Linked DNA regions of Homo sapiens: all the other regions are linked to region 1. Evidence: promoter capture Hi-C in 16 types of primary human blood cells and fetal thymus (Javierre and others, 2016). All regions are on one chromosome and are shown on one strand. Each heading gives the region's core, a stretch centred on a gene start or on the middle of the fragment in contact. The rest is flanking DNA. Distances are from core to core; before and after follow the strand shown.

Region 1 (3,649 bases), core at 934-3,433:
TTGGATCCAGCACATCCCTGCATACCCCCTCCCCAGAGTAAGGACATTCCTCCTGCTATCTAGCTTAAGGCTTCTGGGCTGCCATTTAAGCCCCTGGCTGGCCGGGGCCAGGTGGCACATAGACCCTGGGTGAGGTCATTGGCTATCCTGAGTGCCACTGAGCCCAGTGGCCAATTTGCACCCATAGGGATAGGGCAGGGAGCACCAGCAGGAGGCCTCGAGATGGTGGAGCTGGGGGAGATGTGGGCTCAGTCCCAGGCAGGGGAGGCCACAGGGCCCATGAGAGAGCACACAGAGGCTCCACCTTATACAGGAAGGAGTCCTGCAAGCATGGGGGTGGGGAGCTGTGGGAAAGGGCAGTGGGAAATCCACTGGGGCTCACATGCTCACAGGTCACCACCTCATGCAAAGTGTGCAAGGCTGTGGGTGCCCAGGACCCTGTGGTCTCCAGGGCAGTAGATCTGGAGGGGTGGAATCTCCAGGTTAGAACAAGCCACATCTGCAACTGAAGGATGGAGGTCAGGGCCTGTTCCCTGCACCAGAGCCAGGCCAGCACCCCTCCTGTAAGCATGTGGCCTCTATGGCTATTATAAGGCTCTCACGGCATCCCTGGGTGGGGCTTCTACTTCTGGGGTCCCCTCAAGTACCCGTGGAACAAAAAAAAGATTACTCCTCCACTGGGGGCATTGGCTCCTGACCCGCTGCCCAGGTTCCCTGGCCCCTCTGCCAAGCCCCTTCAGGCCTTGCCCACTTCAGTGCTTCCCCTCCAACCCCTTCCTCCAGCCCCCAGGCCCAAGGCAAGTCCTTAAGGCCCCAGAGAAGAAACTGTCCCCTTGTTCCCCTGGTGGGCAGTAGCCCAGATACCCCTGCCTACCTACCACCCTCCAGTGACAGACTGGGGGCCTCCCCCTCTGGCCTTGTGCCCGGAACAGCACGGTCAGGGGCTCAGCCACCAGGCAGGGTTGTCCTTGCCCTGTATGCCTCACAGTTCGCCCTGAGCCTTGGGGCCTTCAGCCCTGGGTCTACCAGTGCCTTGCTGGGGAGTCTCTTTGTTTGACAGAAACTGACGGAGTGCCTACTACGGTCTGGGGGCTGTTCCCCCATCAGTCCCTGCTCCTGGAGTGCTTCCTCAGGAGCATGGCTAACTTTCTGCCTCTCTGGTGTTGCTGTCTCCAGCCAGGCGGTAGAGTTACTCAGACAACCCCTGATGTTCTGTGTCATCTGCATCAGGCCATGCTGCTCCCCATCACAGACACTGCAGGATAGGGGGCCATCTCACCAGGCCCCAGCACTTGTGGGGAACAAGACCTGAGACAGACAAAGCAGCCATGGTGAATGGGGAGAAGCGCCCAGCCCCATGAGCCAGGGTCTTGGTGTCTCAAGTTTGGGATGGAGCAGGTGCCCAGTACTCAGTCCAGCCCAGCCCCACACTCTGACAGCTGGGCAGCCAAGGTCAACCGTCTGTCTGTCCATCTATCCAACTGCCCATCACCTGCCCTCTCCATGCTGGGAATACTCCCTTCCCAAAGCAGCTGCCCATATCTAGGGAAATGCTCAAGGCTTGGGGGCACCCTGAGCCCACTCTAACAGTAAAGGGATCAGGAAGGTGCTGTACTCTCTGTCCAGCTACCTGCCTGCCTGCCTGCCTGCCTGCCTGAAAACTCAGCATTTTCTTCTCTGCTAAAAACACCTACCACCTGCTCATGATGTCTCACATGCATAACAGGCCGGCGCGCTCCAGTGAGCAAACAGCTGTGGCTGAGACCAGAGGACCAGGCCAGTCCCAGGGGATGGGGCATGCTCTGCTTTCTGAGAGGCTCAGAAAGGACAGACAGACAGACGGACACACATGCCCTCCTCCAAGCGTGCCTGCCCCATCGGGTGCCAGGCTGTGGCAGGGTGCACTCACCCGGGAGATAGTGAGGGGCATGTTGAAGTCCTTGCCCCCCTGCAGACGGAAGCCCCAGGGCCCGGGCCCAGTCAGGGTCACACTGTAAGACATGCTGGTGCTGTCAGCGGCCGCCTCTGCAGACAAAGGGTAGAGAGGGTTGAGTGAGAGGGCACTCAGGCACTCCGCCTGCCCGGTCCACACCTCTGCCCCTGCCCCTGACCCCCAGCCTTGCCTGTTCTGTCCCTTGCTGCCCAGCCGGGCTGCGTGGAGCTCTTGAGAGGCTCCTAAGAATAGCTGGGAGCGAATGCCATCGACACTGATATCTGCCTTCGGCTGCGCCCATAAATGGACTGTAACCCTACACTGTGCCTGCCAGCCTGCCGCCTCCCAGCCGGTCCACCATGACTCACACGGCTAATATAGCCCCTGGGGAGGGGTGTCCGGCACCCAGCACCCCCCAGGGGGGAGGAAGGGGAACTGGCCTGGTTGGTGAGAATGCTCTGGTCTCCTTGCTCCTGTGTCCTCTGGAGAGCGTAGACACTCGCTCTTCCTGCCCAGTGGTACCCATCCTCTTGCTCAGAAGACCAGGGGCTGAGCTCCCTTGGGTAGGGGCTTTGCTGCCGTGTGGTCCCTGGCCAGGATTCTGGGGTTGTGCTTTATCCAGTATGGGGCCCTGGAGGTGCCTTGGCTTGAGCTGAGCCTCCAGCTGGTCTGTGACTGGCCCAGGGTTGTCCAGCCATAAAAACGATCATCATAACAGCAGCTCTGGGCATAGCCAACCTCAGTATGGGCCCTTCACTCCCTGGGATCCTGAGAAGCTGCCACCTGGGCCCGCAGGAGACAAAGCTCAGGGAGGTTAAATGACTTCTCCAAGGTCACACAAGGAGTGGACCCAGGTCACACTGGAGCCTGGGCTGATTCCTACAGAATGCATGCCAGATAATGGGCTCCCAGTAGCCACAGAAGCCTCCCAAAGCCCTGGTCCTGGGCAGCTGGCCCTCTGCCTGCACCCCTTGGCATAGGGTCTGAAAGCAGGTCTGAGGCAGGCCCATCCCCTCCAGACCCTCTGGGGGCCCAGCCAGTTATTCCTGGCTCTCCTGTCTTTGTGCTCTGGAAAACTTGACGGCAGCATGGAAAGCTCCAGCTGCCAGTGCCACACGCCAGGCCCCGTGCCCTTTGCGCAGGAATGGCAGGGGGCAGGGAGAAGGGAGGAGACGCCATTTGCTCAGCTGCTAGACACAGGGCCAGGAGGGGCAGGGAGGGGGAAGCACGTGTGGCATGTTCAGCCTGTACCCCAGAGACAGTGTGTTCTGGATGGGGGCCTCAGCACCTTGGGACTTCTGCCAGTGCGGTCTTTGGGCCAACCCCTTCCCCAAGAAAGACCTCAGGCCCCTATGTGGTCTGGAGATAGATCAAGGCCCACCCTGGCTCCTTGGTTGGAGAAACTGAGGCTCAGGGGAGGCAACTGGGTTGGCTGCTTGCTGGCCCTCTTGGAGGGGTCTGGCTTGGACCCTGAGGAGTCAGTAGAGGCCTGGGTGTGAGTCATTTCTCAGCTTCTAGCCTCACTCCTGGGGCCTGGCACATGCAAGGTACAAGGTAGGATCACCCATATTACGGGGTTGTTTTGTCACTTGCCCAAAGTCACAAAACTATCAAGTGGAAGAAGTCAGGAAAAGACCTGTGTCCTTTTCCCTGCTTAATCACTTCCTTCACCCTATATCATGCAGCCCAGCCCAGGAGGCCAGCAGTCCATGGCCA
Region 2 (3,649 bases), core at 659-3,158, 230 kb before region 1:
TATATGTGTTATATACGTCCCTTTTCTTTAAAAGGGAAAGAAAGTAGACTTTAAACTGGGTGTGGTGGCTACTTGGGAGGCTGAGGCATGAGGATCACTTGAACCTAGGAGTTCAAGTCCAGCCTGAGCAATGTAGTGAGACCCTATCTCTAAAAATAATAATTTTTAAAAAGAAGCCAAAAATAGACTCTGCCAACAGATTAAGGAGCATAGTATTACAGAAAATACAAGGGTTTTGGAATCAAACAGTTTGAATCCTAGCTTTGCCAGTTGTTCACTTTGTGAACTTGAGCAAGTAATTTATCTCTAGGCTTTAGTGTGCTAAAAAATACAGGTTAAAAAAAGATGAACTGGGAACAGTGGCTCACACCTGTAATCCTAGCACTTTGGGAAGCTGAAGTGGCAGAATGGCTTGAGCGGAGGAGTCTGAGATCAGGCTGGGCAAAATAGTGAGACCCCATCTCTAAAAAAATTTTTAAATCAGCCAGGTGTGGTGGTACACGCCTGTGGTCCCAGCTACTCAGGAGGCTGAGGTGGGAGGATCACTTGAACCCAGGAGGTTGAGGCTGCAGTGAGCTGTGATTGCACCACTGCACTCCAGCCTGGGTGATGGAGCAATACCCTGTCTTTAAAAAAATCTGCTCTATAGAGTAGTTGGGGGGAAACAAGGTAGAATATACTGAATCCCCAGGATACTATACACATATAACAAATATTCAATAAATTAACTTCCCTTCCTCTTGCTTGACATGAATCCCAGATGAGATTCTAGACTAAGCCAAAAAACTTCTAAGTCCCTAAAGACCCATTGTGGCTTCACTAAGAATAAGCAACACCTGCCTCATCTCACGTCTGTCTTACTCAGGTTAACTATGTATCTGGGTAGGCAAAAATTGGGTTTGTCGAGATTATGAATTTGGGTGACACAGCCTTTCCTTTTCCTGCACTCTCCACCCGTACCCTCTGCCCAAGTCAATTTTGTATTTCTAGACTTATGTGGGGAATATGAATTTTTGTGGGAAACAAATTTACTTGGCACTGATGAATTAAGTGATTCTGACTTAAATAAACTTATTCAGTGTGCTCAGGCTGGAGACAGTATATGAGGAAGGAACTGACGCCAAGTTACAAGGAATGGCAGTGAGGTTTCTGAAAAATAATTTGTCCTATAGGAGGAAACAGAATAAGCACAATTTACCAATGCAGCCTGGGGAGTGGAAGAACGCGAGGCCTGGTGAGAGGCACTCACATCTGTTCTGTGCCACACATGGCAGTGCGTGAAGACACTGGGGAAAGGGTTAGGATGAGCATGACAGAGCTGTGCTTGGGTGAGTGCTGTGCTTGGGTGACGTTTACCAAGAAATACAGAAAGTTAGATAAGTGCTGGTCAAAATGCTTGCTGGCGTAACCCAATTCTTAAAAGCAACGTATCCTTCACGTATTTTTCAGGTGACACTTAAAAATTTTCACCATAAATTTAAATGGCTGCAATATATTAATAATTTCTGGCTTACTGTACATAATGACACTTTGACATAGAATTGTTACCTCATTTTGAAATAGAAGTGTTACATCATTTTTTAATGCATTCAGTAGAATCTAAATAGCATTGCAATTTGATACCCATTATCATCATTTTAAAGAATAAATGAACAAATGCTTCTTTTAGCAATGAGAAATTTTACACTAGAACTCTTATTTCTCCTTGAACTCTTATTTCCTTTCAATATCTCCCATGATAATTACGTCCTAAAGTAATATATAACTGTCCACATCAAAGATAAGTACATAAAAATTCTTTTATTTCCTATAACTGTATGTCTTTAAGTCTTAGAAAATTATTCTAGTTTATCATAATCATTATTAGCATAAAATTGATCAAAACAATATATATGTTACAATCTTCATTAAATACAAACTTAAGAAAATGTTATTGGAAAGGGCATTTTTTCTTTTTCTTTTTTTTTATGATAGAAGATCTAGCTATCACTCCGCACACTAGAGTGGAGTTGCATGATCTCAGCTCACTACAACCTCTGCCTCCCAGGCTCAAGTCATCCTCCCACCTCAGCTTTTTTTTTTTTTTTTCTTTTCTTTTTTGAGACGGAGTCTCGCTCTGTTACCCAGGCTAGAGTGCAGTGGTGCTATCTCGGCTCACTGCAACCTCCAACTCCTGGGTTCAAACGATTCTCCTGCCTCAGCCTCCCAAGTAGCTGGGATTACAGGAGTGTGCCACCACGCCCGGCTAATTTTTGTATTTCTAGTAGAGACGGGGTTTCACCATGTTGGCCAGGCTAGTCTGAAACTCCTGACCTCAGGTGATCCACCTGCCTTGGCCTCCCAAAGTGCTAGAATTACAGGCGTGAGCCACCAGGCCCAGCTAATTTTTGTAGAGATGGGGTTCTGCCGTGTTGCCCAGGCTGGTCTCAAACTTGTGAGCTCAAGCGATCTGCCCGCCTCGGCCTCCAAAAGTGCTGGGATTACAGGCATGAGCCACTGCACCTGGCCAGGCATTTCTTAATGATATGGATGGGACTTTTGAAACAAATCAGTTCACGAATTCATGAATAAAAATTACTGCTAGAGTGAGAAGATTCATCATTAATCTTATTCTTATTTTTCCTTTTGTCATCATCAAGACAATGTATTCACATAAGCAAGATGATGATCACGGAAGGAGACTATTATACCATTGTCCCATAATTTTTTTTTTTTTGGATGGAGTTTCACTCTTGCTGCCTAGGCTGGAGTGCAATGGCATGATTTTGGCTCACTGCAACCTCCACCTCCTGTGTTCAAGCAATTCTCCTGTCTCAGCCTCCCAAGTAGCTGGGATTAAAGGCACGCACCACCACGCCTGACTAAGTTTTGTATTATCAGTAGAGACGGGGTGTCGCCATGTTGATCAGGCTGGTCTCTAAGTCCTGACCTCAGATGATCTGCTCGCCTCGGCCTCCCAAAGTGCTGGGATTACAGGCTGGGGCCACCGTGCCACCACGATCAGCCCATAATTGTTTAAAGTCCTTCCAAAGCATATGCTAAAAGTGCCATAAAGATCCTATCATCGAAAATTATTTTCAATGATCCAGCAACTTGGTTGAAAGCAAACAATTGAAAACCATCTGTCATGTAAACACTTATTTGATATCCCGACATAGCCTACACTGATGCCTTTACTTCGAATTACAACACCGTTTGGAACCTTGAAGTTTTACACCTCAGGCCTTCTATTTGTAAACTAGGAGGGGTTGACTATGAAAAGTGACTAAGGGAAAGAGAACTGCTTGAGAAGTTCTGTTCTCAGGCAGAGAAATATTCAGCAACAGGACCTACTGAAGTTTAGGATCCAAAAACTGATTCCCTTAAAACTATCAACGTGCCCGTTACCCTTGTATAACACAGTCTGAGTGTACCCAGGGATATGGGTAACAGCATGAAGACTGCTCTATTAAAGAATCAATATGGTCAAAGCTAACATCTATTAAGCCCTTACTATGTGCTAATTGTGCTAAACTATTTACATGTATCTCATTTGATCCTCATAGTAATTCCTTCATGGATGAGAAAACGAGAGCAGAGCACCTTGTCCGAAGGTTCACATATATAGTATATAGATTTGAACAGCTTGTCAAGTTTAACAACTAACTTA
Region 3 (3,649 bases), core at 379-2,878, 210 kb before region 1:
TAATTCAATCGGCATAGTATAAAATAATGTATCTAATCCTATCATTTCTCTTTTTTATGACTTGGAATACATCTATGAGATGCTTTCCCTCACCTACTAATTGGATACAGGTGGCACAGTTCATGTTAGAAAGGCAAGATTAATGTTTGATTTCTCCCTCTATTTACCAGTTTTCAAAATTAATGACTTCATTAGCATCTTTTAACAGTAACCAACTAGTTTTGTTTTCTTTTTTTGAGACAGAGTCTTGCTCTGCTGCCCAGACTAGAGTGCAGTGGCGTCATCATTGGTTCACTGCAGCCTCAAGCTCCCGGGCTCAAGTGATTCTCCCGCCCACCTCAGCCAGGAATACAGGCACACATCACCACACTCAGCTAATTAAAATTTTTTTTTTGTAGAGACCAGCTCTATGTTGCCCAGGCTGGTCTCAAACTATTTTTTTTTTAAAGGGACTCTCAGTTTAGCCGTGGATGTTCTCAAACTCTTGAGGCTCAAGTGATCCTCCTGCCTTGGCCTCCCAAGTGTTGGCATGTACAGGTGTAAGTCACAGCCCTCAGCCCTAACTAGTTTTTTTCTTAAGTGTTATTACAAACACGTGGATTTAAACATATTTGATTTGTTTGAATCCACTACAATTAGTATTCAATTCAAACTGGTCACTGAATCCTTTGAACTTTTCCTTGCTTTCTGGCCAAAATACCAAGATCACCTTGCTCTTTCCCTGCCGAACTTGAACTCAGTGATTTCTCCAAGGAGTTCTAGATCCTTAGTGAAAAAAGACAATCAGATACTACAACTGGGTTGTTACAGGTGCTTGTTGTTACTGGGTTGGTCAGTGTAAAAATATATGGCTAAGAAAGCAGCTTTGCAACTTGCTTTTTTCACTTTAACTGTATTCATCCATTAAACCAAAATGTACTGAGTGAGTACACGGTGGTAGCCACTGTTTTAAGCCCTGGGTGACTAGAAGAGTAAACAAAACACAGTCCCATATCTATTAAAGCTTACAGTCTTCGACGGAGAAAGACAATAAAGATGAATAAATACTGACATTTGGTACTATTTTAATATTTATTCATAGGTAAGTGCTACAATACCAAATAAAGCAGGTCATTTTCTAGCATGGGAAAGGAGCAGAGTGCCTCAGAGCGGAGGTCACTAAACCAAAGGCCAGGAGAACAGGCAAAGCAGAGGCCAGTGGCTAGGTCAGAAATTCTCAGAACACACATCAAGACAAGATATTTAACTGTGTTTAATGGAGTGAAACCAAAGAGATCAGAGCAAACAGAATGTAGGACCACTACAACTTTACAGGAACTGTACTTCCAAAGATATCCCAGGCTGACTCAGTCAGGCTGTGAGTTTTCAATCCATAGGACAATTTCCAGTAATCAGACCTCCATACTAACAGAAAGCAGGCCGCTAAAGCTGTTCAGTCTCCACAAAGATCATCCTCCACTAATTCCAGCTCAGATGTGACCATGAAGACAGAAACACTAGCCAAGGAACACCAGAGACAAGGCAAATCCTCCCAGAAAATAAAACTGGAGGCTGACAAACAGGTTAAGCATCATTAATCTACATGCTATGGAGCAGTGAATACTGAGGTTGTTTCCAATTTTTCTTCCTCTGAATGGAAGTTTTATATAGTACTTATCCCACTTCATCTTTATCACTGGATACTGGATATACTGTGCACTGATAATTGCTTTTAGCCACACACTGCTGGACCATGAAGAGGCACCTGGACCCGAAGGAGAGGGCTTCCCACCAGCCAGAAGTCCTGGATTAGTAGCTGCATGTACTAAATGGATGCAACTCTGGGGTATAGAACCCTTTGAAAAGGAACTGAAAATTTCATAGCAACATGAGCATTTTAGCATATGTATGATGTCAGGTCAACAAATGTGGTACCCAGCAACAGATACTCTTATTCTTCTCCTCCTTCCCTTGCTGGCAACAGGCATGTGCACATGTACACACACATTAAGGGTCTGCCCCTCCTCCACGTGATTCAGGGAAGCGCAGCCCTCTACTCTCAGCAGAGATAATCGTTGGTCTAATCCAACAATTTTAGTTCCATTCCCCTTGCCAGTGATTTAACACAAGAGCATATAATGAATTTTGGCCACTAAGATTAGAAGGAAGTCTGTTGGGGAGAGGAAGTGAGTGAATGGGGAAAGATTTATCAATTAAAAAGAGACACAAACAGATTTCCCTCTTCTTTAACTGAGCATTGTCAACTCAAGCTTACCTCATCTGCATGTGATGTCTAGTCTCTCAGCAGCCACACTGTGACACTGTGGCTAACCTGACATTTAGAGATGTCACAGTTGAAAAGACAAAGAACTTGGGTCTTGATGAGCCACATAACCAACTACAGTCCCCTTATATACAGACTTCCTGTGTGTTACTACATGCTCTTTATTGTTCAAACTTTTTTTTAAAAAAATAAAAATCACCTAGCCCAAAATGTCATGTTTAAGCTCTTTTAATTTTTTTTTAATTATTTGTAGAGGAAAACATTCTAATTGATGGAAAAAATTAAATCTCTCCCAGATCCTTTTAATTGTCCAATTGATACCTATTTTCCCCCTTTTCCCAGCTAACCAAACTCTGATTTTGTTTGGGGGAACAACACACCCAGCCCTAGGCAATGGATATAGATTAAGACAATTGTGACAATCCTGTTTCTCTGTTTTCCAGTAGCTCTTGCTATTAGGAATGATTAAGACTTAAGACAAAATCTGTGACACTTTTGCTTTCCTGGTATCAGGTCTAGTTGAGGCCAGTGCTGACCCTTTCCCCGTTTTACCTGCCTCAAATGCAGATAATAGTAACCACTTGGGAACCACAAGGGAAATGTCAAGAAAATTACAGACATGTCAGCCTTGACACTACTCAATAACTGAATGTACAGCAAACATCTACCACCTATGTTAAAAATAAATCTCTATTGAAGTCATTATTAGTTACTTAAAACTAAAATCCATTTCTGAAATTTGTGACAAAATCCAAAAAAGGGACTACATATCTATCCAACATTAATATATCCTGTTGTAAAATTTGTGACCAAGTCTTAAAAAATAAGAACTAAGTATCTATCAGCTGTTAATATCAGATGACTCATTTTTCTGTTCAAACCTAAGTAACTTTATCTCAATGTAAAGCACTTAAATCTATACCCTAACAGTTGATGGTCAAAACATTCTTGTTTATATCTAGGATAAGCATTATTATTTCTATTTTACATCAAGGAAACCAAGGTACAGATAAGTTTATTTTCCTGAGACATAATTCAAAACAAGATAAAGCTAGAGCTAAAGTCAGAAGTTATTTCCATTAATACCATTCTACAATCCTTCCTAATGATCTCTCAGAAATAACTTTTCTACATTGGTTTTAGCTTTAAGAGCAAACATTTGTGTGTTATTTGAAGCAACTATCAAAATAATTTTTTGAAAGGAAATGTAACAAATTTCACTCTTTATCAGAGAAATGTAATTCTTAATAAGATCTTTTGCTTTTACGTAGTAACTAATTACCAACTTATTCCACCTAATAAAAGTTTATTATAGAACAATGTGAACTGGGGCGAAGACTGAGAATTTTGTATCATATTGCCTACGTGTGATCTAAACAGATTTTA

What was found. The method cuts DNA at HindIII sites, captures the fragments that hold promoters and counts their contacts. A CHiCAGO score of 5 or more calls a contact.
Region 2: a fragment that was not itself captured here is called in contact with the fragment with the promoter of LDB3 in region 1 in 1 of 17 cell types (M2 macrophages); the score reaches 5.0 in M2 macrophages.
Region 3: a fragment that was not itself captured here is called in contact with the fragment with the promoter of LDB3 in region 1 in 1 of 17 cell types (M0 macrophages); the score reaches 7.3 in M0 macrophages.

What each region holds. Positions count from the first base shown.
Region 1 is chr10:86,667,045-86,670,693 of GRCh38, reverse strand. LDB3 (LIM domain binding 3) reads right to left here and starts at 2,183. Exons shown (of 14, transcript NM_007078.3): 1 at 2,124-2,183; 2 at 1,910-2,025. The coding sequence starts at 2,002. RefSeq lists an enhancer at 2,003-2,052. The HindIII fragment of the contact is 20,890 bases long and covers 1-3,649 here.
Region 2 is chr10:86,894,605-86,898,253 of GRCh38, reverse strand. All of the region lies in intron 5 of BMPR1A (bone morphogenetic protein receptor type 1A), which reads right to left. Among named protein-coding and RNA genes, the nearest start is that of MMRN2, 61 kb to the left of the region's middle. The HindIII fragment of the contact is 9,730 bases long and covers 1-3,649 here.
Region 3 is chr10:86,877,829-86,881,477 of GRCh38, reverse strand. All of the region lies in intron 3 of BMPR1A (bone morphogenetic protein receptor type 1A), which reads right to left. Among named protein-coding and RNA genes, the nearest start is that of MMRN2, 78 kb to the left of the region's middle. The HindIII fragment of the contact is 1,246 bases long and covers 1,006-2,251 here.